Regions from separate parts of the Homo sapiens genome. Here all the other regions are linked to region 1. Evidence: promoter capture Hi-C in 16 types of primary human blood cells and fetal thymus (Javierre and others, 2016). All regions are on one chromosome and are shown on one strand. The core of a region is centred on a gene start or on the middle of the fragment in contact, and the rest is flanking DNA. Distances in the headings are between cores, read along the strand shown.

The links. Contacts are between HindIII fragments. The CHiCAGO score rates a contact against its expected background, and 5 or more counts as called.
Region 2: a fragment that was not itself captured here is called in contact with the fragment with the promoter of DNASE2B in region 1 in 2 of 17 cell types (endothelial precursors and fetal thymus); the score reaches 5.6 in endothelial precursors.
Region 3: a contact is called between a fragment that was not itself captured here and the fragment with the promoter of DNASE2B in region 1, in 1 of 17 cell types (naive B cells). The highest score is 5.3, in naive B cells.
Region 4: a contact is called between a fragment that was not itself captured here and the fragment with the promoter of DNASE2B in region 1, in 6 of 17 cell types (erythroblasts, total B cells, total CD8 T cells and 3 more). The highest score is 7.1, in erythroblasts.
Region 5: a contact is called between a fragment that was not itself captured here and the fragment with the promoter of DNASE2B in region 1, in 1 of 17 cell types (monocytes). The highest score is 5.0, in monocytes.
Region 6: a fragment that was not itself captured here is called in contact with the fragment with the promoter of DNASE2B in region 1 in 1 of 17 cell types (M0 macrophages); the score reaches 5.2 in M0 macrophages.
Region 7: a fragment that was not itself captured here is called in contact with the fragment with the promoter of DNASE2B in region 1 in 1 of 17 cell types (naive B cells); the score reaches 5.1 in naive B cells.

The regions. Positions count from the first base shown.
Region 1 is chr1:84,396,124-84,400,412 of GRCh38, forward strand. DNASE2B (deoxyribonuclease 2 beta) reads left to right here and starts at 2,361. Exons shown (of 6, transcript NM_021233.3): 1 at 2,361-2,566. The coding sequence starts at 2,442. The HindIII fragment of the contact is 1,924 bases long and covers 1,225-3,148 here.
Region 2 is chr1:83,893,881-83,898,169 of GRCh38, forward strand. All of the region lies in intron 18 of TTLL7 (tubulin tyrosine ligase like 7), which reads right to left. Among named protein-coding and RNA genes, the nearest start is that of LINC01725, 35 kb to the left of the region's middle. The HindIII fragment of the contact is 1,368 bases long and covers 1,587-2,954 here.
Region 3 is chr1:83,914,082-83,918,370 of GRCh38, forward strand. It overlaps TTLL7 (tubulin tyrosine ligase like 7), which reads right to left. Exons shown (of 21, transcript NM_024686.6): 14 at 3,523-3,609. Among named protein-coding and RNA genes, the nearest start is that of LINC01725, 55 kb to the left of the region's middle. The HindIII fragment of the contact is 4,769 bases long and covers 1-4,289 here.
Region 4 is chr1:83,951,304-83,955,592 of GRCh38, forward strand. It overlaps TTLL7 (tubulin tyrosine ligase like 7), which reads right to left. Exons shown (of 21, transcript NM_024686.6): 2 at 884-1,084; 3 at 542-673. The coding sequence starts at 908. Among named protein-coding and RNA genes, the nearest start is that of TTLL7-IT1, 31 kb to the right of the region's middle. The HindIII fragment of the contact is 1,438 bases long and covers 1,445-2,882 here.
Region 5 is chr1:84,787,231-84,791,519 of GRCh38, forward strand. The region is part of intron 2 of LOC102724892 (a long non-coding RNA gene); the gene reads right to left. Among named protein-coding and RNA genes, the nearest start is that of SSX2IP, 99 kb to the left of the region's middle. The HindIII fragment of the contact is 7,389 bases long and covers 1-4,289 here.
Region 6 is chr1:84,755,384-84,759,672 of GRCh38, forward strand. No RefSeq gene overlaps it. Among named protein-coding and RNA genes, the nearest start is that of SSX2IP, 67 kb to the left of the region's middle. RefSeq lists an enhancer at 1,254-1,825. The HindIII fragment of the contact is 4,011 bases long and covers 402-4,289 here.
Region 7 is chr1:84,047,735-84,052,023 of GRCh38, forward strand. No RefSeq gene overlaps it. Among named protein-coding and RNA genes, the nearest start is that of TTLL7, 51 kb to the left of the region's middle. The HindIII fragment of the contact is 483 bases long and covers 2,102-2,584 here.

The sequences.
Region 1 (4,289 bases), core at 1,111-3,610:
GAAAAAAGGAATGATTTTAAATCCTACTCAACAAACTGTCTTTAGCCCTACATAACTGAAAACAATTTGCTTACATTCTCTAAATGCATCAGTGAATCCTACTGGTATGTTTCTATTATTAGTTGTAATACCAAAAAGTCTCACAGGTAAATAAATAAGTAAATAAATAAAATTATTTTGGCCTGGTGCAGTGGCTCACACCAGTAATCCCAGCACTTTGGGAAGCTGAGGCGGGTAGATCATCTGAGGTCAGGAATTTGAGACCAGCCTGGCCAAAGGTGAAACCCCATCTCTACTAAAAATACAAAAATTAGCCGGGCCTGGTGGTGGGCACCTGTAATCCCAGCTACCCAGGAGGCTGAGGTGGGAGAACCACTTGAACGTGGGAGGTGGAGGTTGCAGTGAGCTGAGATTGCACCACCGCACTCCAGCCTGGGCGACACAGCAAGACTCTGTGTTTACTTTAACAGAGAAGAGTAATCTCTCTCTCTCTCTCTCTCTCTCTCTCTCTCTCTCTCTCTCTCTCTCTCAGTATACATACATACATACATACATACATATATATATATATTTGAGACAATCTCACTCTGTCACCCAGGCAAAAGTGCAGTGGTACCATCATGGCTCACTGCAGCCTCCACTTCCTGGGCTCAAGCAATCCTCCCACCTCAGCCTCCTGAACAGCTGGGACTACAGGCATGTGCCACTATGCCCGACTAATTTTTTTTTTATTGTTTGTAGAGATACATTCTTGCTATGTTGCCCCGGCTGGTCTTGAACTCCCAGGCTCAAGCAATCCTCCTGCCTTAGCCTCCCAAAGTTTTGGGATTACAGGCATAAGCCACTGCGTCCAGCTGATAATTTTTAAAAAAACTTTTAAAAATTGACAAAAAGGTTGGGGTTGTTGAAATCCTTTTTTCTGAACACAGGAAGAAAATATATAAAACAAAATGAGAACAGGCACAGTGGTTCATGCCTGTAATCCCAGCACTTTGGGAGGCCGAGGTGGATGGATTCCCAGGCCGAGGTGGGTACACTCCAGCCTGGGCAACAAGAGCAAAACTTCATCTCAAAATAATAATAATAATAATACCAATGGAGGAATGGGTAAGAAAAATATTTCTTCATTTAACCTGCAGAAAGCTGTGAATCTACCAAATACAGCATAGTCTTGGCCTCAGGGCAGTGAGTTTCAAACTTTAGGGTACACCAGCATCACCAATAAGCTTATTAAAAATATAGATTCTTGAGCCCAACTGGAAGAATTCTGATGTAGCAGGTTTGGAATAAGTCCTAGAATTCTGCCTTTTTTGCAGGCACCACAGGTAATTGGGCAGGTGGTACAGAGTCCTCCTCCCAAAACTCTGTCTTAGGATAGAGACACAAGCCTTCCCCTTTTCTATGAATCCTGAGAATTGTGAACAGTTCTAGTGCAACCACAGAGGTAATCTGATTTACAAGGGTTCAGTTTGGTCTGGATCCTCTGATCTGGAACTATTATAGTTATCATTGTGATTATCAGAGAGACAGATTAGGGGCAGCATTATTTCCAGGCATGATGTAAACTGCTATTTATTATGATGGCAGCTTTAATAATTGATGCAAAAGTATGCATTAAAGAAATTATTTTCATATGTCTATCTACTCCTTCCCTGATTCACAAAGAAATTGGTCTCACCTTTTTATAGTTGTTATGGTAGTGGGCCATTTTATTTTGGTTTTCTACTTCAGATTCAGCTTCGAGAATGAGAAAGCATAGTTTGGGCAAAATAGATGTTTGTAACATTTTTTATTAACCTGAAGAGTGGGTGATCAATATGTTTACCTATTGCATAGCAGCCTGAAGCACCACATTGAGTGGCTAAAACCAGGAAGATGGAGAGAATATGTAAACATCTTTGGTAAAATACAGTTAAATTTACTGTTACTTTGAAGCAACCCTTTGAAGTATCCCTTAGCAACTGGTTCCTTAAGACAGAGATTATTAAGTGACAGATCCTAATTATTACTAAGACATAAGGTTTTATCATTTCTGTTTAATGTACGAACCACCTGCATTTGCTCTCATTCATTGAGTCAAACAGGAGAAGACATGAAATATATTTAACATCTACTTATTAAAATGAAGTCCCCCTGCCCAATGAATTTCATACAACAATGTTCACTCCAAAGAGTGAACTATCTTTCCCTATTTTTCTGCAGAACTTTTTGATGACTTTGCAAACCAGTCAACAATTCAGCACAAAGGCATCCAGAGTCACGCTGGCATGTTGTGACAGAATCGCACAATTACATGGGATCCATCCCACTCTGAAAATGCCCCGAACAGCGAACAGCACAGGTAAATCAAATCAAACGTCAGAGCCAGCACAGCCTGAGAGCGCCTTGAAACTCAGACTCCACAATCTATGGGGAAAGTGTCCTGCTGTGGCATGAAATAAATGAAACAGAAAATGATGGCAAGACTGCTAAGAACATCCTTTGCTTTGCTCTTCCTTGGCCTCTTTGGGGTGCTGGGGGCAGCAACAATTTCATGCAGAAATGAAGAAGGGAAAGCTGTGGACTGGTAGGTAAATGAAATGGAAGGACTGCTGCATGCAAACAGCCTCGGTACAGAGTTGGCCTGGCTCACTGCGAAGTTCCTAAGGGGAATGTCCATTCTCTTTCCTCCCTTTACAAATAAAGGAAGTTAAAGTGTGCAAATCGGCCAAACTCCCAGGCAGGGGTAGGCTTCTGAGTGACGGAGTTTCCCCCTGAAAAAGAGCTGAGCAGCCCCTCTTGGGCCTGATTCACTGTTCTCAGCGGGGCAAGGCTGGTAGCCACAGAAGTGGGATTGAGCTGACAGCTTCTGTGAGCTGGCAATTTCTTTTAATTACATCATGGCTTTTCCTAACAGAACACTTCCAACATCCTTTGAAAGACTGACAGAGTAAAGAAGGCAGATTATTTTTTTCTGAAAATGGAGCATGTGCTGCTCCTTATGAGAAAGAGAAGGGGGACCTGGTCACACACAGCACTGTTTGCCTAACATCGGTTTGTTTGGAAGCAGAGGCAGCTGTTGCCATGATTGGTACGTAGGCCACTGGCCTGTTGTACAGTGTCAAAGACATTAAATGCTGTGTTGCATTATAGTCATGGGTTCTCCTAAAGCTTTAACTACTTTTTCACCCTTTAATTGGGATATTTAGGTTTGCCATAATGGTTGGTGTCAAGCTTTTTGTGTAAACTTCAGGCTACAGAACACAGATATACTCAAGGCAGTAGTCAGTCTTTCCTCAGTTACTGAGCTCAACAGAGGTCTGTGTGGAGTTTTGAAAATATAAATATGAACGAAACATGGTTCCTACCCTCAAGGACCTCACAGTTATGTGGTAAGGGCATAGGTGGAACACTGGGGAACAGAGAGCCCAGAAAACTTCTCTAAGGATGTAATTTTTGAGCTAAGTTTTAAGAACAATTAAGAAGTAGCTGGAAAAAGAAGGGATGTGCAAGAGCATCTCAGGCCAATGAAGGAGCAATGAGGAGGTAGAGAGGCAAGAAGCAACATGGAAATTTGGGAGTTGCAAAGTAGTTTGGTATTGCTGGAACTTCAGGAGAATACAGGAAGATGACCGGAGGTGAGGTTAGAGAGGTGGGGACAGCCAAGGGGTCTGTGTGCTGAGCTACAAGGTTTGAACTTGACATTGAAAGGGAGCTATTGGAGGACTTCACGCAGGGGTGTGAATGGTCAGATTTGCACTTTAGGAAACCCATTGGCAGTACTATGAGGGCTGGATGGATGGGGAGCAGCCTAGAATCACTGAGACCAGGAGCACTTTTGCAGCATTACAGGTGAGAAGAGGTGTAGACCTGAGTTAAAGAAGCGGTCATGGAAATAGAAAGAAGGACATGCTGAGAAGACTTGGTGATGGATGGGCTGCAGCCAGTAGGAGAAAGGGAGATGTTAAGAAATAATTTTAGGTTGGCCAGGCGTGGTGGCTCACGCCTGTAAGCCCAGCACTTTAGGAGGCCTAGGCAGACAGATCACCTGAGGTCAGGAGTTCAAGACCAGCCTGACCAACATGGAGAAACCCCATCTTTACTAAAAATACAAAATTAGCCAGGCATGGTGACGCATGCCTGTAATCCCAGCTACATGGGAGGCTGAGGCAGGAGAATTGCTTGAACCCAGGAGGCGGAGGTTGTGGTGAACCAAGATCGTGCCATTGCACTCCAGCCTGAATAACAAGAATGAGACTCCGTCTCAAAAAAAAACAAAAAACAAAACAAGAAAGAAAAAGAAAGAAATA
Region 2 (4,289 bases), core at 1,021-3,520, 500 kb before region 1:
ATCTGTAATAAAGTAGTGTGTGAAAAACCTCATGAAAAGGCTCATTACAGGTAACAAATGCTTCATTATAAAGAGGAATATCTTAAAACTTCACAACAATATTGAAATATGAGTATCAAGGCATTAATTCATGCCTTTTAGTTTTTACAATTTTAATTTAAGCTATTAGTTTAACTCTTTATATTTTTTAGTGTAGAAAGCAGTGCTCATGACTAATGTGATATAAGAATCAACACTAACTGTAAATGATAAATTTAAATCATTTTTCTTCTCACTTTTCCTTTCTACTTTCTGTCAATATATTAGTAAGTAATAATAGGCCAAAAGTCATAATGCAGAAAGGAAAGAATAAAAAAGTAGCCAAGATAACCCATGTATTAGTCTCAAGGATAAATATGAGTTATATAAAAATAACTGAAATTGAAAAATGTTATTGATACTGGCAATTTTAACGTTACCTTAAGTTCATCAGTTTTCACATTATATTATAAAATGATTATTCAACTTTAAAATGATAAAGGATTTGAGACCATGGAGTATTCATTCATTTCTTTTTAAATACACTTCAAGGGCAACTAACATGTATCATCCGCCTGCTCTATGCAAAACACTGTGCTAGGCACATTACTTAGAGGAGATTCTTTTGACCACTACTCTGCATATATTTTCTTAATTTAGAGGGAATTTTAATAGCATGACAGTACCATATTCTAGCCCATACATGACTAAAAGCAGCACCTTCAGAATGGAGCCGGGGAGTTAGGGATGGGGAATGCTTCTGCTCCATTCCTAATGTTTTCTTCAATATGGAGATGGAAAAATCTGCAGGCATCATGGCACCCCATCAGGCACCTCTACCTAAGAAGCAATTTCCCAGATTGGTGAGACTGACATGGTCTGGGCAAACTAGGCACATTCTCCTTCCTGTCCAGAGCAAACCACTGGGAACACGCATTCCTCTTTGCTTCTCTTTGCTTTCAGTTTTCAAGGAGCCTCCGCAAGAAGGCAAGCTTTGGTCCTCGGAGACCCACCCCTATAATTTGGAGGGCATGGAACAACAGACTGAGGGAACAGGAACCCAAATCCTTCAACTCTCCTCTGAGTCTTCACATAAGCTCCTTCCTCTGCCTGAAACAGTCTTCTCCTATCTCTTCATCTGATAAACTTCTATGTTTCACTTCAAATGCCACTTCTAAGGAAAACTTTACCTGCCACTGAACTATTGTTTGATATCTTAATGCCCAGTTCTTCCTTTATTAGCAAGCACCTTATTTTATTTTAATTTCCTGTTTAATTAATGGAGACTGTTATGCATATAAAGGGAGTAAACTGTGCCCATCTTGATAATAAAGTTACCAGGTCCCCAAGGCTTAAGACAAGGTCTATCATTTAGTAGGTTCCTGTCTTAGTAAGTCATTCCTTGCAAGAAAGTCACACCTATGTAGACAAGGTAAAAAATCATTGAGAGAACTTACCATGTGCCAAGCACTGTTCTAAGCACTTTTACATATATTAACTCATTTAGTCCTCAAAACAAAAACATGAGGTAGATACTATTGGTCCACAGTCCCTTTCCAAAAATCTCAAGCTTAGATTCCATAATCATACATATTATTAATTCTGCAGGAAAAAAATGTAAATATTCAAACCAAGAGATAGACAAAATCAATACATAACTTCTTGTCAGGTCATTGTCACCAAATGAATTCAGGTAGGTTAGGTTTTGCTGCCTAGGGGTTATGAAAATTTTTTTGGTCGTGAAAACATTTTGGATCCCCATTTTATGGATGAGAAAACTCAGGCACAAAGCAGATAAGTAACTTGCCCAAGATTACCCAGCTCATTGTATCCAGACCTACGCTCTTAACTACATCCAGCACTGCCTCACAATTTAGATTTTCCAGATGCCAGCAGCAAAAGCCTAGAGAGAACCCCATTATCTCTTCTTAGATTCAGATTCATTTCTAGTCAAATGGTATTTGGGAGGAGAGTGGGATCACTGTGTAAAAACAAGGTTGCCTAGGCACCCCCTCCTTTATGGCCACGGAGTAAGGAATAGTTTGTTTAGAAGGCTATACAGATGGGGAGACAATGACTGTACTTTTAGCCAAATACTCACTTAATAATTTTAAGAAAGCACAGACCAGGCAGGCAAGAAATCAGACTGGAATGAGATAAATTAGTGCTAGTTCTACCTGTGATGCTTTTTTGGATTTCTGGTCCTTTGGGGATTGAAGAAATTGGATGGAAGATGAATAATTCGTGAAACACAAAAATAAATGATCAGCAAGGTGCCCTTGTGTTATCTGTGGGCTTACGTGAGGCTAATTTATAGAATATAGGTATCCATTTCCTTACATTATGACTTTTAAAAGCATCCCAATCCAACATTAAGCTCTCCAAGGGAAAAAACAAATGGGAGATTCAGTCAATGACAACATTAATAAAATGAAAAGATTTGTCTTTTCCATGTGAAATATAGCACATTTGAAGGCATAAAGCACACAGACAAATTCATATTTTGCAAAAGCATACAGATGTTGAATGACAAACTGCTCCATATGGCCGAACAGTTGGTCCTAAATTAAAATAATGGCACGAGGTGAAGGCGGTTTAGAAATAACATTAAAATCACTACATGCTGTACTAATGATGCATGCAGCAGCGATGGCTATAGGGTAAAGGCATCTTTGCTGATGCAAAACGAACAGCTCTGAACAGCATCTATGTCAGCCTGAATAAAACAGAGACGGAAAATAGTATCATCAAAATGCATGCAGAAGCAGCCACAGTAGGTATTAAAAATAAATTGCTATTTAGAGAAGTAATACTTGATAAACAAGGACCTCTTAGCACCCTAAAATAAATGCAAATACAGTACAACCTTAATGTCATTAGTTATTTCTCTTCATCCTCCACTCTTAGTTTATGTTTAGGTATCACATCAGATAATAAGCTTTTCAGCAAATCTGGCATTCTTTGCAGCCCACCAACATGACTATATTTTCATACTTCATATATATTCCTCACAAACTATATAAAGCAACTGCATTCTTGGCAGAAAGCTAAATTATGCAAGTATGGAGTTACCACAACATGACATTAAATAAGATTAACTATTTCCATTTTCACCTGGTGAGGGTTCTTTTCAGGATTTAATTCCCATACCCTTGATCTTTACATTTTACATCCATTAAGGAAAATTTGAAGGCAAATAATTTTTTTTTAATTTCCAAGAACAGAAAAAAGGAAAGCATGTGAAAGACTCTGTGTGTATGTCATTCTAATCTTGGAGCTTTACAACAGGCTAATAACCACAAATGCCTCAATCCTGGAACAGGAAAAGTGGTATATATATTTCCATAATGGTCTCTAAATGGAATTAAGATACTTAAATAAGAGTCTTGTGCTTCCATACCTTGAATAGTGCCTGGGGCATGGTAGTCCCTCAATAAATATCTGTTGAATGCATGATTAAGTGAGCAAATAAATGAATGAGTAAACAACTCTCAAAATCCCTAACAGTGTCTAGCATATTATTTGTATAAAATTGGCAATCAATAAATGTTTGTTAAATTAAAATGTATCACGCACAGCCTTTGTGGCAGCCATGGAGATGTGCCACTTAAATTAACATGTTTCAAAGAATGCAGTTAGCTGATGGCTTCCCCACTGGGGATCCACTGCAATATTCAAACCATGCTTACACTCTCCCAAGATAGTTCCCAGCCAAGGATGAAGCATGGCTGGGATACGAGTGAAGAGCTATTTCTGCTCACTGTGATCCCTTCAACAGCCAGTCTTTGTTCTGGGCTCCCCATCAGCCTGACCACAACTTTCTCAGAGATCCACTAAAGTCTGAGGTTCTTCCTACCCAGTCCTCCTCCCTTGCATTCACTGGAGTCAGACCTGCATTGTAGCCCTAAGGCTCTTCCTGCCTACTTGCGCTCTCTCTCCCCATTATCTTCCTTGGGTGTTTTCCATTAAAAAAAAAAAAAAAAAAAACTTTCACTGTTAATTCCACCTTAGTGTCTGCCTCCCAGAAGATTAAGCTGGTAAAGCTTTCAATGATTATTGACTGACATCACAGCCAAAAGAAGGATGGATCTGATTAACATGCATCTAATGTAAATTAGTTAAGTCCTTAGCTTTCTAAACAGATACATTTTTGTAATATCTAATTCTGCACTCCACAGGTGACCTACATTTCCAGGTTTCTTTTAGTTTCTTGGATGCAGTTTCTAGCTTTATAAGACAATAGCACAAGTTTCTAACTGATAGCCAAATAA
Region 3 (4,289 bases), core at 1,026-3,525, 480 kb before region 1:
ATTCTACAATGCCTCAATATAGAGCACATAATTCAGAACAGTCTCTGATATCCAAGATCTCCACCAGATAAGTATCTTATCTCTTAACCAGGCTCACCTGTATCATTTCACTATCCAAGAACCTTCCACTTGAGTCATACCAAACTTTTCATGTTTCTACAACATCCTATACAGTATCATAACTCCATATCTTTGCCTTTAATGTTCCGTCTACCCTAAATGTTCTTCCACCTCTCTCTCTCTTTTTTTTTTTTTTTTTTTTTTTTTGTGAGACAGAGTCTTGCTCTGTCGCCAAGCCAGAGTGCAGTGGCGCGATCTTGGCTCATTGCAACCTCTGCCTCCCACGTTCAAGCAATTCTCCTGCTTCAGCCTCCCGAGTAGCTGGGACTACAGGCGCATGCCACCACACCCAGCTAATTTTTGTATTTTTAGTAGAGACGGGGTTTCACCATGTTGGCCAGGATTGTCTCAATCTCTTGACCTCGTGATCCGCCTGCCTTGGCCTCCCAAAGTGCTGGGATTAGAGGCGTGAGCCACCGTGCTCTGCCTCTTCCACCTCTCTTAATGCTTAGAGCACTACTCATTTTTCAAGATCCAGTTCTAATAGCACTACCTTTCTGAAGCCATCCACATGCTACCAATCCCTTTCTTCTCTATGGGGCTGTAGCACTTTACACTCCCTTTATTATAGTACTTGCCACATTACTCCCTGGTTTTTTATTTACCTGTCTGCTCTTCTACTAGCCAATGAGGTTCTTATGCATATATTTAACAAATTGAACTAATGGATTTTGAGAACCTACTGTGTGTCACACACTGGCTAGGTTCTAAGAATACAAAGATGAAAATCTACTTGCTACCCTCAGGAACTTGCAACCTCATACTGAGGCAAACATGCAAATAATTACTTGTCACAACTGCTCTATAAAAGTGTTATTTATGGAACAGCAGGAGAAAGAAAGAAGGGAAGGTCTAAGCCTAACTGGGGAAATGAGGGAAGGTTTCACACAAGCAACAGCGGTTCAGCTGAAATAGGAAGGAGCCTCAAACAACAAGTCAATGACTTTTTTTTTTAGTAGGAAGACATTTCAGAAGCATGGAAAAGCATGAAAATACGATAGAACAAAGCTGGAGGCATCACACTACCTGACTTCAAACTATACTACAAGGCTACAGTAACCAAAACAGCATGGTACTGGTACCAAAACAGAGATATAGACCAATGGAACAGAACAGAGCCCTCAGAAATAATGCCGCAGGTCTACAACTATCTGATCTTTGACAAACCTGACAAAAACAAGAAATGGGGAAAGGATTCCCTATTTAATAAATGGTGCTGGGAAAACTAGCTAGCCATATGTAGAAAGCTGAAACTGGACCCCTTCCTTACACCTTATACTAAAATTAATTCAAGATGGATTAAAGATTTAAATGTTAGACCTAAAACCATAAAAACCCTAGAAGAAAACCTAGGCAATACCATTCAGGACATAGGCATGGGCAAGGACTTCATGTCTAAAACACCAAAAGCAATGGCAACAAAAGCCAAAATTGACAAATGGGATCTAATTAAACTAAAGAGCTTCTGCACAGCAAAAGAAACTACTATCAGAGTGAACAGGCAACCTACAGAATGGGAGAAAATTTTTGCAATCTACTCATCTGACAAAGGGCTAATATCCAGAATCTACAATGAACTCAAACAAATTTACAAGAAAAAAAAACAACTCCATCAACAAGTGGGCAAAGGATATGAACAGACACTTCTCAAAAGAAGACATTTATGCAGTCAAAAGACACATGAAAAAATGCTCATCATCACTGACCATCAGAGAAATGCAAATCAAAACCACAATGAGATACCATCTCACACCAGTTAGAATGGCCATCAGTAAAAAGTCAGGAAATAACAGGTGCTGGAGAGGATGTGGAGAAATAGGAACACTTTTACACTGTTGGTGGGACTGTAAACTAGTTCAACCATTGTGGAAGTCAGTGTGGCGATTCCTCAGGGATCTAGAACTAGAAATACCATTTGACCCAGCCATCCCATTACTGGGTATATCCCCAAAGGATTATAAATCATGCTGCTATAAAGACACATGCACACATATGTTTATTGCAGCACTATTCACAATAGCAAAGACTTGGAACCAACCCAAATGTTCAACAATGATAGACTGGATTAAGAAAATGTGGCACATATACACCATGGAATACTATGCAGCCATAAAAAAGGATGAGTTCATGTCCTTTGTAGGGACATGGATGAAGCTGGAAACCATCATCCTCAGCAAACTATTGCAAGGACAAAAAACCAAACACCGCATGTTCTCACTCATAGGTGGGAATTGAACAATGAGAACACATGGACACAGGAAGGGGAACATCACACACTGGTGCCTGTTGTGGAGTGGGGGAGGGGGGAGGGATAGCATTAGGAGAAATACCTAATAGTAAATGACGAGTTAATGGGTGCAGCACACCAACATGGCACATGTATACATATGTAACAAACCTGCACGTTGTGCACATGTACCCTAAAACTTAAAGTATAATTTTAAAAAAAAGAAAATATGATAGAAGACAAAGTGGCTAAGGACAAAGAGATAGCATAGTAATTCTGAAATATAAATGGAATAGAATGAAAAAAAAATCCAAGATTTTTCTAATTTAACTCTTTCCTACTCTACTAGCAAGAACTTTGACATATATCAGAAGAACAGCACTGGATGCAGTGGCTCATGCCTATAATCCCAGCACTTTGGTAGGCCAAGGCAGGAGGATCGCCTGAAACCAGGGGTTCAAGACCAGCCTTGGCAACACAGTGAGACACCATCTCTTTAAAAAAAAGAAGAATTTTTTTTTAATTAGCCAGGCATGGTGGCATGTGCCTGTAATCCCAGCTACTCAGGAGGCTGAGGCAGGAGGATCACTTGAGCCCAGGAGTGTGAGGCTACAGTGAGGTATGAACATACCACTGGACTTTAACCTGGATGAGAGTGAGACCCTGTTATCAAAAAAAAAAAAAAAAAGGAGAACATGTAGATGTCATCTACATGACAGCTTTCTACTTATTTCTAGGAATTACACCTATTTTAACTAAAACAAAATCAATGTTGTTAGGTCAGCAAAAGACAGGGCTTCTAATTAGGGTCTCTAGAGTTCATGATTTGCCTTATTTATAATGTTACCCATTTATTTGATAATTATCTGTCTAGAGGTATGAGGCAAACTTAATACTTAGTTTAGAATAAGAGTACTAGCTCTTGGGTCCCTTTTGGCCCTGACTCATGGTCTTTTCACTGTCATCAGGAAAATAACCAAAATGACGAATGAAACTAATAAAACAAAACAAACTCCTGAGTGTAAGGTATCATCATCTTCCAAACTTTACCTGCACTGGGCACACAGTCCCTGTGGTTCCTTTTTTAAAGCAGCACCAGTCTTTCTTATAGTGAGAAGTATCAAGGGCTAGTAGCATCTACTTTGATAAGTAAGGAAGGTAGAGATATACTGCACCTTTGGTCCTCGAGTCTTGGTAGTTTTTCCCATCAACTTTTCATCATCAATTTCACATTGCTCCAGAAGATCCAAAATATCTTCTTCCTTCAAAAAATATTCTAATTAAAATTACAACCACTAATGGACTCTAGAATTTTTCCAAGTTGATTAATCTCCACAAAATAATGCAGAGCAAGGATTCCTGAAATTATTTAGTGAAGATTGCTCAGAAAAAAGGAGAAATATTAAAGGGTCACAGCAAATTCTCTTGAAACTTTCACTAAAATCTGGCATTATAATTAATACATAGCCAAAATCTATTCTGTATTAATTATCCTAAACAAATGTATCTTTATAGTACAGTATAGTATTAAAATCTTAGAGTATAATACTTCAATAAATTAGCCCATTGGACACTAAAATTTCTGGAAAGTTCATGCTGTTTTCCAGATTTCAAGTTTATGAATCATTTCTATACAGATTAGTGCAAAATGATATTAAACCTCCAGACAGAAAACTGATAATTGGACTAACAGTTTCACTTAGAAACATTCTAATGTGAGTATTTGCTGACTGGGCACTATTTAATGAAACTCTTTCAAAATTTTAATGATTGCACAAAGTATTTTTAGAACTTTATAAAGGTTTTCATTCTATAGTCATCAAAGGTAGCAAAAAGCCACAAGTGCCCTAACACCTTTCCTGCGTTCTACTAGAGTCATATTCTGAATCAAAAGGAAATTTTGTAAAAGCATATACCCCAGTGGATATTAGGCAAGCCAGGA
Region 4 (4,289 bases), core at 914-3,413, 450 kb before region 1:
GCGCCACTGCACTCCAGCCTGGGCGACAGAAACTCCGCCTCAAAAAAAAAAAAAGAAGAAGGAATGTAATGTGTTACTTAAATTTGGGTATTTATGTATACACAAACCCATGAGGCTAGGAACATTCAGGTTATATATGAACATTGGAAAGATCCATTTTTTCTTTACATTCATAAATTCAAATTTGTCAGGTCAGTCACATATAAACCTATCTTATTATGAAATTCACAGCTTGAAGAGCTGACAAAATTAAACTTCAAAGAAAAATACAATGCCAAGTCCCTTTTTTCAGCTAAGCTGTCTAATCATATTAAGTGTTTGAACTGAAATTTTAGAAATCAGTTGGGATCTTTTTAAGGATATCATCTTCTACCACACAGAAAAAGAATCCTTCTAATATGTTAGAAATTTTATAGAAGGCATTTAAAAATCCATTATATAAAAGATAAGTTATCTCTTTGGATTTCTACATTGTTTTTAACACCAAATCAGTTTTTCCAGCAATTATGAGAATCCCATGATTGCTTCTAAGGAAACCTACCAATTTCAAACTTTGTCCCGGCAACATTTGCTGTAATGGTTCCCTTCTTTTTCTTCTTTCTGACTTTCCTTTTCATTGTGCTTTGATAAGGTAATTCTGTATTCAAATCCAGGGGAGAGGGTCCCTGAATAACTTTAAAAAAATGTAAAATAATCAGATAACACTGAAAACAAAAATCTATACCAGACAACACAAATACCACCCCCACCCCACACCAAGGTAAAATTACAAATCCTGGTACTTTAAAAAGTCCCCAATTAATTTTTAATACTTTAAAAATATTAACAGTAATGATGTATAACACCTCCATATTTTGTAACATAGTTAAGTCAATTTCCCTACCTCCTTCTTGAGGCAGAGATGGCATTATTGCCTGTGCTGATTAGCAAGCAGTGTGTGCTGCTGTACCAAGCTCTCAGGAAATCTGGAAATTCCACATTAGTCTAAGTAGGATATGGCCCCAAATCACTGAAAGTTCTTATCATATTATCTTGGTGGAATCCTCAGATTTCAGGATACCAAAGTTATGGGATAACAAGGTACCTGCAGTGATTTTAAAACAAGGTCATTTAGAAAAAACTTTTTTGAATTTTTTTTCATATATGCCAAGACTATTCTTTTTAAAAGTCAAGGTGAAAGTTAATGTGTTCAATCAACAAATAATTGTAAATCGGTTTATTAAACCTTACGCAAAATGCCAAGTGATGCTTTCCTATCCTGAAAGAATGCATAGTCTAGGGGAAGAAGTTTTATTAAGTCACGTGTCACATGTATATTCAATAAATAATATACTATACACAAACAATAACAGCAATAACAATATTCACTACTATTTATTGAACACTTATTATCTTAGGCATTTATATTATACCATTTAATCTTTCAACAAACCTGTAAGGTAGAAGCTTTTATCCCCATCTTACAGATAAGTTGAGCTTAGAAAGGACAAATTATTTTGTGTATCTTTACAAAGAAAATTACAACACAGAGATTAAAATGAAGATTCTTCTAATGTCAATGCCAGAGTGTCTTATTTAGAAACCCACACAACCTTCAACCCAATGCCTGAAACACTGCTTTTAATATGAGACAGTGAAAAGTGCCAGGCAGGGTAGAGGTCACATGTTGACAGAATGCAGAGAAGTGATTCCTATATAAAGGATTATGGGGGACAACTTAATAAAGTAAACCACATCTTGAATTGTGCCTTAAAAAATGAGAACAGTTTTGAAGGACAGAAAATGGGTGGGGTCATTATTATGATGATTTTATTCAGGCACACAGAGGAATGCAACAATCAATGAATTAATTTGATCTGGCTACATCTCAACATGGCCTATAGTACACTTTGCTTGTATTTTCATTGTAAATATATGAACGTAGGCATTTATGCCCTAACAATACCATATTGTTCAGTCTGTACTATCAACTTTCTAATTTCTCCTTATTGTAAGAATCCTTCAGTTCTTGTAAAATATCTATAAACACAATGAAAAATAAAACCTATTATGATAAGCAAAGGTATAATATCAACACCTTTATTAGATTGTCAAGTTTATCAGAAATTCAGAAACATCCAACATTCAGCTACATAAAACGTGAGTCCTATATCACTCCAAATATTCATTATTATTAATGTTTCAATATTAAAGAAAATTTAGGGTTTTATTTGTTCTCAGGTATCATTTTTACTAAAATGATTGTCTAGTATAATTCAATATCAAAACGGGGAACTTTTATTTATTACAGACCAACTGTAGGTAGGCATTTTATTAAGCATTTTAAATATTTTATTTCATTAACAAACTTTAAATTTAGGTATCATTTCTCCCTATTTTCCAGAAAAAGAAACTAAGGCTAGATAAGTTAAACAAATCAAGGTAACATGGCTTAGAAATAGAAAACTTAGACTTTAAACCCAATTCTAATTATTCTATTCATTAAGCTCCCCTATTTTCAGACCCCATGCTAACATAATATATAGACATATGAGAAGTTTCCAACCCTACTGCAGTACATGCCGCAAGATATGGCCATATTCTGGGAATTTGCAATACTTCAAACAGTGAATTCACAGTAAAACATCTCTAAACTGATCTCAGCTCCCAATGCCAAGCTGGAAACAGACTGGATCACTTCTCAGAATAAAAGAAAGGAGTAGTGTAAAGTTTAGTTCAGTTTCTTTCTGGAGGCTCTCTGAAACCTCAGGGAAGTAACTATTTGAGTTTACAAGTTTTTTGTCCAACATCTTGTTACTGGAGTAAACAAAGATCCCCTTTACAGTAACAGAATACTTATTACATTGAAAGTAGGTGACAAAGTCAACAAGACTTTAAAAACAAGCTTCACCTAACTATACTAGATTCTAAAAACAAATTTGTTAGTTTTTGACTTAAATAATAAGTCAAATGGCTGATTTGTACAGAGTTCAAAACAAGAACTTTTATCCCTTCCCCAAGGCATACAGGAATTTAAAGTTCTTAAAATTATACTATGCATATATGCGCTTTACTTAATTCCATTTATGCCTTAGTCAAAGTGCTTTAACAAACTCAAGGACTTCATTCAACCATGGCAATTCTAATCAGCTTTATTCTAAGCAAGAGATTTGAGATGACGGATTTATCCCACCACTCATTTGAAACCATAGTTACCTACTTTCCAAAAGCAGAAAACATGTTTCAGTTACCTCTGAAATGCTTTAAGCCAATGGCTTCTCAACCTTGGCTGCAAAGCAGAATTGCCTGAATGAGGAGCTTTTGAAAATCCTGCTGTCCAGGCCACACCCCAGAACTAAGTGGGGCCCAACCATCAGCATTTCTAAAGCTCTTCATGTGATTCCAGTGCAGCTAAGGTTGAGAACCTCTACTGTAAGCACACGATGACAATGCAACAAATAATAGCTAATTATAACAACACATGAAATTATAAGAAAAAAAGTAAAAGAAAACTCATAACTTTTTTAAAAAGACCAAATAGGTAAAAATTACCCACAAAAATCCTGTTTTCCTATCTAGTTCAAAAAAAAAAAAAACCAGAAAAAAATTTGACGGTGAGCACAAAATGATTTTTAAGATAAAGAAACAGAATTTATTTACAAAAGGAATCAATTTTCCAAAATTTCAAGCAAATGTTAACCTTGAACATAGAACTGTCAAGCACCAATAGATACACGAAATTGAAACAAAACCAAAATAATTCCAGTACATTTGTGCTAGAGTACCATTTCTTCCCTATTCTTCCGTTGAGCTTCTACCACACTTAAATTCCACATAAAATACCACTTTTTCCTGAAAGCTTTCTCTGATTATATCTGAAGAAATTCATTTCTCCCTCTTTTGGGCTATCACAGGCCTTATTTTTACCCTTATCATAATCACCTGCCAAAAAGATGGTTTTCTTCTATCTTGTTCACTCCTCCATTCCCAGGTCCTAGAATAGTGCCTGACCATAGTGTTCAATAAGCACTTGTTAATGTGTGCTATGGTTTGAATATTTGTGTCCCTCCAAAATTCATGTTGAAACATAGTCCCCAATGAAACAGTATGATGAGGTAGGACCTTTAGAAGGTGATTGGGTCCTGAGGGCTCCTTCCTCATGAATGGGAAGGACTTTATAATCAAGGCTTCACACAACCTTTCCATCCCTTCCACCATGAGAACACAGCATCCATCTCCTTCAGAAGGTGCAGCAACAAAGTACCATCTTAAAAGCAGAAACAGCAGCCCTCACCGTCAATAAACCTGCC
Region 5 (4,289 bases), core at 768-3,267, 390 kb after region 1:
TGGCCAGGCTGGTCTCAAACTCCTGACTTCATGATCCACCTGCCTCGACCTCCCAAAGTGCTGGGATTACAGGCATGAGCCACCATGCCTGACCTCTGTGTTTAAATTCTAATGTGTGGATACACAGGTGTGTATAGTTTATGAAAGTTTTTCAAACCATTCACTTATAACACGTACACTTTCTGTATTAAATGTGTATATTTACATTTTCTATATTATGCTTCAAATAAAGAGTTTTAAAATGAAAAGAAAACATATTACTTAACTCATGGGTCAAAAAGAAATTGTGCAGGAAAATATAAAAAGCTAAGAACTGTATGACAACTACACTAAAAATGTGCAGTTTGCAGTGCATTTATTCAGACCAAGGGATGCAGGTGAGAAATCAGCTGTGGGAGAGGACGGCAATGGGTTCTCTTAAGTATGTATGAATACGAATTTATAGGTTTGAATGTTTATTTGGGAAAAAATGCCACTTTAAACATAAAATTAATAAGCTAAGCATCAAACATAAGAAGGTAGAAAGAAAACAAAATTCCCAAAGAAAATAAAAAGAAGGAAATGACAACCTTAAATTAGATAATAGATACAATAAGTACAATCAACGAAGCCAAAAATTAACACTTTGAAGAGACTAACTTCTGGAAAGACTGTATAAGGAAACTAAAAAAATATATAAAGAGATAAGGCACAAATAATATTAGCAGAGAAAGTAGAATACAAACGGTCAAAAAGATAATAAAAATATAAAATGAAAAACCTTATCCAATAAGTCTGGAAATGTTCATTAAATGGACAAATTCCTAGAAAAATATAATTTGCCAAAACTGACCAAAAAAGAAATAGAAAGCCTGTATAACCAGCAGTAAAAATCTTCCCACAAAATAAATCCTAGGCTTAGAGAGTTTTATTTGTGAGTTTTACAAGGCGTTTCAATTACAGCTGAAGATTTACCAGTATGTTAAAGAAGCAGGATTCATGGGATATAATCCAGAAAGTTATTAGTTTTGTCTCCTATGGCCCCTTTAAATCTTCTCAGTGAAGGCAATCCTTCCCCTGCCATTGGATGAAAACTCAGGCAAGCCCTATATAAAATAACTATAAAATATTCACTTTTATAGTTGTTCTTGAGTAATAGAAATACCTTTATTCACTTTCAGACACAAACCCAGACTCAAATTAGTAACTTGACATAAAAAGCCAGGCTTTTTTTTTTTTTAATTATGCTTTCAGTTCTGGGATACATGTGCAGAATGTATAGGTTTGTTACATAGGTATACATGTGCCATGGTGGTTTGCTGCACCCATCAACCTGTTGTCTACATTAGGTATTTCTCCTAATGCTATCCCTCCCCTAATCCCCCATCCCCAACAGGCCCCAGTGTGTGATGTTCCCCTTCCTGTGTCCATGTGTTCTCATTGTTCAACTCCTGAAAACCCAGGCTTTCAATTTAAAAGTTAAGACTTCTCTTCACTCTACCTTCTTTTCCCCCAGCTAAGGGCTATGGCAGGGAGGCCACCTGTTTGGGGGAAAGACATAAAATCCAATCTCTTCCTTTTTTCTGTCTCACCTTGTCAATCACCCTCCCCTATACTAGTCAGGGGACAGAAAACACACCAGTTATTTGAGAAATAATTTAATATAAAGAATTATTAACTAGATATAAAGCTACTAACCAGGTAACAGAAGAGAGAAGAGAATGCTAAGGCGTCATAAGCAATCATTTGAGGAAATGGCTATCATTCCCAGGGCTGAAGAAATAAAAGGAAGAGATTGGAATTCTTGAAATCTAAAAGCTGAGACAAAGGATCCTGGTGAGCTGAAACCCTGACCCTGAGGAGGGGGAGATGATTGACTGATGGTGGTGTCTCAGCTCAGAAGAGCAGCCGGGGGAGGCTGGGGCCCGGACTCTGAACAGGGGGCACTGGTCAGCACATAGTCATGTCTCAGGTTAAAGGGGTGAATGTGACAAGTCTGGTCCTGCAAGTTTGGTAGAAATAGCGAACTGGATCAGCTGCTGCTATGGAAGGAACTACCACCAATGCAGTGAAGGTGCAGTGCTGGAGTGATACTCACAAGAACTGTGAGCAGAAAGGAAGTCCAAAGCAAGCAACTGGGAGGAGCACATTCCTTCTGCTCCTCCAGCCTTTGAGTTTCCCTCTAGCACCCCAATTGGCAGAGCCCAACAGGGAATAGCTGGCAAAGCAGAAAAATGATTTCCAGGGTTCCTGTCCAAGCACCAAAAAGCAGGGAATAAAAGGGTGGAATGAGCTGAAAGACAATTAATAACTCATACATCCCCCATCCATTTACTGCTGTTTCTGATCCTCTTCAGGTCTGGGAGATGGGGAAGGAAGACAGGCAGAAAGTCCTTACTTAACTGGTATCAGCAAGGTATTTGAAGCTGATTCTTTCTCTTATGGAATGCTTTCATGTGTACTTTGGAGAACCTATTTTCTTACCCTATCACTGCTGATTTCCTTTGATCTGAATGAATGCACAGTGTTCTGGAAGTTGCTCACTTACTACCCCTTACTGCCAAGGAAAGCAGTATCCACCTCTAGCTCATGCTGTAATGAAACCTGTTCACCTCTCCAATTGACCTGACTCTGAGTTCATCTATGATGACCCAATTCCCAGCTCTTTTGTGTATACCTAGCCAAGGAAACCATCGTACTGCTTTGTCCAGGCAAACTGGGGGATTACGAGCTGATTCAAGCCCAGCAGCATCTTTCATTCAATCCACCACCAAACCACTTAGCCTATCCTTTTCTTGCCTTCTGTGTTCTAGATGGGAGCTGGACACAAGTCTGCTGACCTGCCTAGGTGGAGAGGACGCATATGGAGCTTTCCACAGGGAAAACTTGAATCCCTTCTCAGTTGGCTCAGTTCATACTAGCAATGTTTTCCAAAGAAATCCTCTTCAAATCTCCATTAAACTCCCCTTTCTAGTCATTTATTTGCTTGAGAGGGCAAGGAGTTGTTAGTGTGAAGGAATGATTCCTGGATATTTCCTTTGGAAAGGCAATCTTGGTCTAACATTTCACTTTGAAAGTTTATATTTTTTGAATCTTGGTGCTTCAATTGAAACTTAATTTAACATCCTTTTTCACCATTCTTAAATTCTTCCTTTTCATCCTGAGATCAGTATAACATTGATCCTAAAATCAAATTAAATAGTACTAGAAAGGAAAATTATTGGCCAATCTTATTCACATGCAAATTCGCCAAAATTCTAAGCAAACTATTATCGACCAAATCCAGCAGGGTATGAAAAAAAGTCCATCACACTAAGTTGGGTTTATCCCAGGAATGCAAAGCTGGGTTAACATTATAAAATTAATTAACGCAATTCCTTATATTAACAGATTAGAGAAAGAAGACAATTTTATCATTTCTTTTCCTTTTCCTTTTTTTTTGAGATAGACTCTCACTCTGTTACCCAGGCTGGAGTGCAGTCGGATGATCTCTGCTCACTGCAACCTCTGCGTCCTGGGCTCAAGCGATTCTCCTGCCTCAGCCTCCTGAGTAGCTGGGATTACAGAGGCGCACCATCACAACAAGCTAATTTTTGTATTTTTAGTAGAGACAGGGTTTCACCATGTTGGCCAGGCTGGTCTCAAATTCCTGACCTCAGGTGATCTGCCAGCCTCAGCCTCCCAAAATGCTGGGATTACAGGCGTGAACCACCGCACCCAGCTGACAATTTTATAACTTTAATATACGGCAAAAAGCATTTGAGAAAAAGCAACCTAATTTGTGGTAGAAACACTGAAAATTATAATTAAGAAGGTAACTCGTTTAACAGGATAAAGGTCAAAAACAAAAATTTATGGCAGATAATATTCTTAATAATAAAACTTACAACTATTTCCTTTAAAATCAGGAACAAGTTGAAGATGCTCAATATTATCATTCTATTCAACATTATTCTACTGATTCTCATCAGTAAAATTTTAAAAAGGAAAATAAAAAGGTACGCAAATTGGAAAGAAAGAATAAAATAATAATTATTAGCAGATAATATGATTGCCTATGAAGTATATTTTTAAAAATCTATAGTTAAATTATTAGAGTTAAAAAGAGTTTAAGTTTTGCAAGGTAGCTGGGTATACAAAAATCAATTGCACTTCCATAAAGCAGCCGTAAAAATTGTAGTAATATAATTTTTAAAAGATACCAGTACAATAGAAATAAAACTATAATAAAATAAAAGCAAGACCTTTATGGAAAAAATGCTATTGAAAAATGTTAAAGAAGACGGAAACTAATGGAGAGATATACTGTT
Region 6 (4,289 bases), core at 1,157-3,656, 360 kb after region 1:
TTCTTCATTCCTGCCGCCCTTTGGTTTTCTTGAAAAGCACAGCTTTGACAGTGACCACATGCTCCCAAAATCATTTCACCCGAGGAAAATCCACCCCTTCTTTTACCCCACCCACTGTCACAAAAGTCTCCAGCAGCTTCCATGATGTCTCCTTATCTTTGGGTGGGACACAAAATTCCTAGTGTGTCTTCCACCCGCAAACTCTTTTGGCCAAGCTTCTTGTCATCTTGCTGCCTTAACACTTGGGCTTGGCTCTTCCAGCCCTAGGGTTTCACAAATTTGGTTAAGTCCAGAGCACATTCATGTGTACGTATGCAATCTATCTGGTTGGCGTTTTGTGTTTATTACATGACGATGGTCATTTTCCTCGAGAATAAGGAAGAAATGGACCATCGTTGCAAAGCTTGCACAGTAGCTTCACAATGAAATTATTTTGCCATTTGCTTCTAAGTAGAATTGTAATGTTGGCTTCTAGGTGCACCTCCCACTTCCTCCTTCATTTTTACCTATAATTTCTTTAGCATCGATTGAGAAAGTGTTTATTCAGGGCATAACCCTGTGATAGGTACTGTGAGCGATATGAAAAAAGCCATGGGGCCAACTCTTTTAAAAAGGTGTTAATTGGATTTTTCCCATATAAAACCCCCCATAGCATTTTATTTCCTAACTCTGCTTCTCACCGTCAACTTCATTTGCCTATTTAATGCAATTTGCTTCTCATGATAAGATTCTATTAAGTGATTATTAAGACATTCTGAGTTACCTCAGCCAAGTACATCTATAATCATTACCTACCTCCTGGGGGTGATTTGAGGTGTAATTAGTTAAAGCTCACTGTTACCTCCCAACATCTGAACGACAAACAGAGACCACTTCTACACAGCCAGTCTGTGAGCCTGGTGCAGCCTGTTCACATTTACATAAATCCCATAGATCCAGGTTTCACGAGAGCCCATGTTGGGTCTGTAGAAATAGAGAGCATACTGAAAATTGCCTACCTCTATTTATATCAAATTGTACCCCTGAGGGTTAATTTCTTTTGGTTTCTAAGTGATATTATTTAATAGCCCTAACGTTAGTGTTAATAAAACAAACACAATAAACCTCCACTAAAAATTGAGATATGCTGGAACAAATCAGCCTAGCACGACCCTCAAACCTCTTATTCTTTCAGTCCTTCAGAACCATTTATTGAACTTCTACTGTATGTGAAGCATTGGACTAGGCTCTAAGGCTGTGAAATTCAGAAAGAAAGTCACTTGTCCTCAAGGAATTTATAGTCAGCAAATTTCACAGATGGTGATAATGACTTTTAGAAAACTTTCACATTTACTCAAAAGCCTATCTAGTATTGAGGGGGTGAGGGGGGGTGAGAGAGAGGGTGAGAGGGGGGGAGGGGGGAGAGAGAGAGAAGGGGAGAGAGAGAAGAGAGCGAGCAGGAGGCTCCAAGTGGTTTAAATACTTTATTGATGAAAGTTCTCAAGTCAAATACCAAAGGCCCCAGGGCTCCTGGGATCTTTTCTCATGGAGAGCTACTTTTAGCCCATGGAAGATTAGAGACATTTAATTAGGAGGAGGAGGTGAACTGTTTCAGTAGGCACACAGACAAGAAGAAGGAGAGACATGGATAGCATCCTTGTAATAAGTAATCAGGTAGAAAAACTGAAAGAAAAAAAGAAACAAGAATTCATGGAGCATTGCAGTGTGGAGATATTTAGTATAAAGGCAAATAGCTTTGTAAACCCCAATGGTCTTGAGGGTTTCAATTTGCATTACAGCACAGTACAATAATTTATTTTCATAATGACTGGAACACACGAAGGCAACTTTAGAACATGGCTACTAGGCAGTAGAATAGGGAATAGAGAATGATTTCCATCAAAAACTATTTCTAGAAATTTAAATCAGTCTTAAAATGATTTAAATCAGTTCTTAAAGTAATGCTTCAGTTATAAGATACAGTAGGCAAATTCTAATTCAATATAAAAAAGTGCTTTCTAGCCATTTTAGCCTCCTTTAAAGCGGATTTATTGACCTTGGGAGGTGGTGAGCTTTCTGTGGCTTAGAGGAACGTAAGCTAAGTGCAGACAGCCACCTATGAGAACGCTGCAGAGGGACTTTGAAAGTCCACCTGCTGGTCAAATCCAGACTGCCGCAAATTTTGTACAGCCTGAGAGCTAAGAATAGTCTTTACATTTTAAACTGAAATTGTAAAATTAAAAAAAGCCTTTTAGTGAGAATAGTTGTTCAATTTTGCCTCCACCCACAAAGCCTAAAATGCCAACTATCTGCTCCTTTACAGAAAAACTTTGCCAACCCCTACTCTAAGGAGTTGCTCTTTCCCAACTCTGAGGCTCCGGGAGCTGAAGCACACCTCATTTTCTCATGAAGGCTCAATGAAAATGACTCGATATTAAAACTGCTTTACTCTGGCCAGGGTAGAGCATCCTTTTAGATACTGACAGTCTCTGGAAATCGGCCTTGATCTAGTGTTAGGTAACGCTTGCTGGGATATACAAATATCAGATTTCGTACTTCTCAGTCTTACAAATTAAATTTTATACTTTCAGATTTTATTCACTGGCTAGGGAGAAAGACAACTCCATGCGCTTCACTGAGTAAATAGCAGAAACAGGGCGTATTTCAAAGCCACCCAGACCTCCCCTTATGTCAATGCCACAAACAAGGCCCAGTGAGCTCTGGGCCATTCTTAGGGGTTCCACCAGGGAAGATGGTAGAGGTGAGGTCATCGTCTCTTGATGGTAGATGCACAGGCCAGGGACCATTATATTATTTTTACCCTAAAAGAGAAATGCCCTTAGGAAACAAAAGTGTTCATAGTTTTCTCAAATTTTTTCTCCTATGTTTTTCCCTCTAAGTCTGGGAGTAAAAAACTCTTAGCTTAGAGAAATGCCATCTCCACCTATTCTGCCTTTGCTGAGAGATTAGCAACCCTTGAAAGGCTTTGGTCTCCAGGCATGCCGGGGGCAGGAAGAAAATGTCTGGTCTTGTGACTCTCCCAGGTGTGAAGTGATGGTTTCAGTAATGTCAGTGTGATTCCTGGGTCTTAGAAAGAAAAATAAAGCAGAAGAAAACCCTGGCATAACCCAGTGAATGGTAGCTTAATGTCATAAATTCCATGGCTCAAGTCAGAACAACAGTCTTTGGAGGATTTCATTCTCTCCAAGGACAAATACGTGTTTCCAGTTGGTTTTATAAATGTGTATCTATGTGTGTTTGCATCTTTCCTGTGGCAGAGTGCCTAGACACGGGCAAGTCATCTGTGGATAACAGCATGCAGCATGTGACATGAAAAATCACACATTGTATGTTTAATTGCTTCAAGGCATTACACACACACACACACACACACACACACACCCCAGCTTAGTGCTGTGTGACTTCTGCCACTGCCTCCTACCCTATTTGTCAGATTACAGGGACACAGAGCAAAGTTTACTGCACACAAAAAAGCCAAACTAATGCTACGAGCCATGCATGGATTCTCCCTGTCTTCCATTTAGAAATCCCCGAGTAAAAAAGGATTATGGTCCTATCACATTTTACTAAACATTCATTCTGTGACCCAAATAGCTCCTGAAGACACAGTTATCACCCACTGTGGGTGCTTTCTTTGTGACTATTTTCAAAGGCATCTGCGGGATAGGCTAGAAATATCAAAATATCATTTGGAGATAAACTGTGGTCAGGACCTATAAATAGCTGCTTCCCTTTAGTGTCTCCGCCCCCCTGTTCCCTGGTCCCCCCTTCGCTCCATACTGCTGCCCTTCACCTTCTTTTTTTCTCACACACAGGATCACATGCTCCTCCCGGGGAATGGACTTGGACCACGTGCATAAGAAATGGCAATCTGGACGGGCACATTTCCTCTGTCACAGAACTGTGTCTTGTATCCCAGCATCCTCCCCACCTCCTTCCCGTGGCCCTGTTTCACAATTAGAATGCAGCTCGGAGTGGAAAGAACTGGCACCCAGCAGATGGCTGCAGGCAGTACCTTCACGCAGCCCCGACGCCCACTCCTCGGCAGCAAGAACTGGGGAGCGCCATATGTCAGAGCTGCCGCCGATGCCAGCAGAAGGGAGGCTTTGTTCTTTTGATGGGTTTGTTTTGAAAGGGGAACATAAATAATACACACCCACCTCTCCTTCCCCAGCAATCTGGGCAGAGCTTGCCGGCAGTCCTTGTGGCTCAAAGTGCCCCAATTGTTCCCTGAACATGGCTGAGTATGAGGGCTGGTCTTGGCCACCAGATGGATTAAGTCTGATTAA
Region 7 (4,289 bases), core at 1,093-3,592, 350 kb before region 1:
ACATAGTCATGAATTGCTTAATGGCAAGTTATGTTCTGAGAAGTGTGTATCGTTAGGTGATTTTTGTCATTGTGCAAACATCATAGAATATACTTACACAAACCTAGGTGGTATAGCCTGCTGCACACGTAGGCTGTATGGTATACCCTATTGCTCCTAGGCTCCAAACCCATACAGCAAGTTACTGTACTGAATACTGCACACAGTTATAATATATTAGTTAGTATTTGTGTATTTAAACATATGTAAATGTAGAAAAGGTACAGTCAAAATATATACAGCATAAAAGATAAAAAAATGGTACACTCATATAAGGTACTTATGAATAGAGCTTACAGGACTGGAATTTGCTCTGAGTAAGTCAGTGGGTAAGCAGTAAATGAATGTGAAGGCCTAGACATTGCACACTACGGTAGATTTTATAAACTCTGTACACAGGCTACACTAAATTTATTGAAAATGTTTTTCTTTCTTCAATAATAAATTAACATTTTAGCTTACTGTAACTTTTTTACATTATAAACTTTTTACTTTATAAACTTTTAAATTTTTTTAACTTTTTGACTTCTATAGTAGCGTAGCTTAAAACACAGACACATTGTACAGCTGTACAAAATATATTCTTTATTTCTTATTCTATAAGCTTTTCGTATTTTAAATGTTATTTTTTTTTACTTTTTAAACATTTTTGTTAATAATTGATACACAACACACACATTAGCCTAGGCCTACACAGGGTCAGGATCATCAAGACGTCACTAGGTGATAGGAATTTTTCAGCTCCACTATAATCTTATGGGACCACCATTGTGTGTACACAGCCCATCATTGACCAAAATATCATGATGCAGCATGTAACTGTATGTCCAAAATTTAATGACTCTGAAAAGCAACATTTAAACATATACTACATTTCCCTATATACTTTTTTACTCAATTCCATTGATTTCCTATTTAATTCTTGTTATTTCACTCTGTTATAATAGTTTTGGTTTTAAAATATAGTTTAATATCAGATAAAACTAGTGCTCTTTCATTACTTTTTTCTGTTTTAGAATTTCCCTGGCTATTCTCTCTTATCTATGCATTAGGATTGGGGTGGGGTAAAGGTGACAGGTAAATCACTGAACTATATGATAGCTGTGGCATTTGAAAGGTATGGGAACAAGAGTAATTATAAGGATTGTAGAGTTTTTTTATAAGGATGCAGGTTTTTGCATACTCTTAGTCTTAAAGTGGAAAAAGACAAGCTCAAGTCTTTTAACTATTAACTCCACATTTTTGTGACTCAGCAATAATGTTATTAAACGATTCTTATCTCCTGTAGGTTGTATGAAAATTAGACTCAGAATCTTTTTATAAGAGTTCCCCATGTTATGACAAAGACAGAATTGCCAAACCGTTCTAGGTCTCCAGTGTCACAGAAGGCCCTAGTAGAAAAAGGAAGGAATCCTTAGACCTGTAGGAAAGACTGAAACTAATATCACTAGAATACCCTAAACAGCAGACCAGATCCCTGCCTCTTATGAGAAGAGAGTAGCCTCCCTTTAGCTAAAAATCTTTACAAGAGACTGACATGAGGCACACGCTTCAAAGATAATGTTTGTTGTCTTTAAGATCTACCTTTTTCACCCCAATTACCTTGAATGGGGAAATGTAGTACCTTCTTTAGGGGGAAATACAACTGCTCTTCATTATTTGTGGACTCTGTATTTGCAAATCCACCTACTCACTAGAATTTATTGGTAGCCCCAAAATCAATATTCACAGCACTTTTGTGGTCATTCAAGGTTATACATAGAGCTGCAAAAAACTCAAGTCACCATCATGCACATTCCCAGCTGAGGCTGAACAAGACTACATTCTGCTTACTTGTTTCAGCCCTCATACTGTAAACATGTGTTTTTTCTGGTCCATTTAATGCCATATTTTTCTCATTTTTCTGCCTTTTGTCAGCGATTTTGGTTTTTGAAAAATAAGTGTCCAAAATTTTGCTTTTTAAAATGGCCCCCAGACAAACTTATGAAATGTTATCTAATGCTCCTAAGCACAAGAAGGATGTGATGTGCCTTATGGAGAGAAGCATCATATGTGTTAGGTAAGCTTCATTCAGCCATATGAATGTACAGCCATATGAATAGTACTATTGGCTGTGAGTTCAATGTTAATGCATCCACAATGTATATTAAATAAGGTGTCTTTAAACAAAAATATACATAAAACATTGTTATATGTTGATCAGTTGAGAAAGATGTTGTGACCAGAGGCTCACAGAAACCTAACACTGTTATTTACCCTAGGAGCAATGGTCCAGTATTTATTAATTTAATGACTTTATAGAACATAACTACTGCAAATAATGAGTCAAATGCACCTTCTACTTAAAAGGAATTTTAGGAGCTGACTATGAAGTGCTTGTAGGAACTAGGGAACACTTGTGGGAGTAGACTGGTGGTGTTAGTGGGAAGGGGACCAATAGGGGAAATTTTATTGATGTCGGAACATCTTCCCATGCCTTATGATTTAATATTCCAGCAAGGACTGTCAAAGCCAGTCCTACTATGGTTTTAAGATAACATCTTGAAGCTTAGACATGATGATGCCTACATAAATGAGATGGGAATATTAGAAATGCTTTGGAATAGTATTAAAGAGTCAGAAGCCTCTGCATGTTGAAATTTTGCTAGATTTTTAATGTGAGACTGGAGAATCCATCACCTGATTCTATTTCCTGGGAGGGCCAGAGGACATTTTCTTTATTAAGGCAATGAGGAATCCATGAGTGAGGGAACTCAATAGTTTACAGTTGACGGTAGGAGATGCTGCCATGGAACTAATTTTACTACTTGTTGGTAGAAGAGTTTCTGAATGCCAGAGGCCAGGTGGTGGCACTTATACATCAGAGACAACGTGGATGTAAACAATGGATAGAAAGGCCAGAATAACAGTAGGGGTGCTCTAACTCATGGGGACCATTTCCAATGGCTAGTAGATTACTGTGTCCCAAGAAGTCAGGCAGATCGATAGCCAACTAAAGTTGTTACTTGACTTGGACTATATCCAACATAGCTGCTGCAATGCAAAATAGTAGTCCTTCAGCTATTTTATATTTATGTCAGTTCACACACTGAGTCCATTGATTGAAGAGAAGCGAAGCCCCCTTAAGGAAATATCCTGCAACAAAACCACAAGTATATATGATAAACATTCCTTTGATTGTTCCTCATAGAGTCTGGCCATTTATCAAGGCAACTGTGCGATAGGAAAAGAGGTAATACCCAGATTTTTTTAGAACTCTTAGACATGGGATGTGAGTTGATTTCTAGTTAAGGGAACCAAAAATTACATTATAGTCCTCTTTAGAATGGTGGGCTTATAAAAACTAGGTAATAAATGGAGTTCTGGTCCAAGTCTGGCCTACATTGTGTTCAATGGGTCAATGACTTTCCCTGTGGTTAGTTCTCTATTCCTCACATATATACTAGGGATAGATATACTCAATAGGAGGCAGAAGCCTCACATGGGTTCTCTGATTTGTGGAGTAAAAGCTGTTGTAATGGGAAAGACTAGGCAGAAGCCCTTAAAAATGTCTTCCCTTGCATATAGCATGCAAGATATTAAATCAGAGCATCTATATCCCAGGAGGAATTGCAGAGAATAATACCACCATCAGAGATTTAAAGGATACAGGGCACAGAGGTGGTACTTTTCATCATACCCCCGGTTCAGTATGCCTATTTCACCTCTGTAAAAATGAGATGGATTTTAACATATGCTGTGGACTACTATAAATTTAACTAGATGGTAGCCCTAATCCCAGATGCTGTACTGTAATCAACACAGCCTCTGTAGCTACTGAACTGGTGAATGGGAACTTTTCTATCCATAAAAGTGATGAGGAACAAAAACAGCATTTACATGGTAAGGACAGCATTATGCACTCACTATCTTGGCCCATGTCTTTGTCTGTGTCTGATGCTATAATAAAATACCACAGACTGGGTAATTTTTAAATAATATAAATTTATTTTTCATAATTCTGGAGCGTGGGAAGTCCAAGGTCAAGGTACTGACAGGCTCTGTGGCTGGTAAAAACCACTCTCTGCTTTTAAATGGCACCTTGTTGCTGTGTCCTCACATGATGAAAGGGGGAAGGGCAAAAAAGGGCCTAGCTAGTTCCCTCCAGCCCTGTTATAAGGCACTAGATCTCCTCCTGAAGGCCCTATCTCTTAATACTGTTATACTGGGGATTAAATATCCACATGAATTTTTAAGGAAATACAAATATT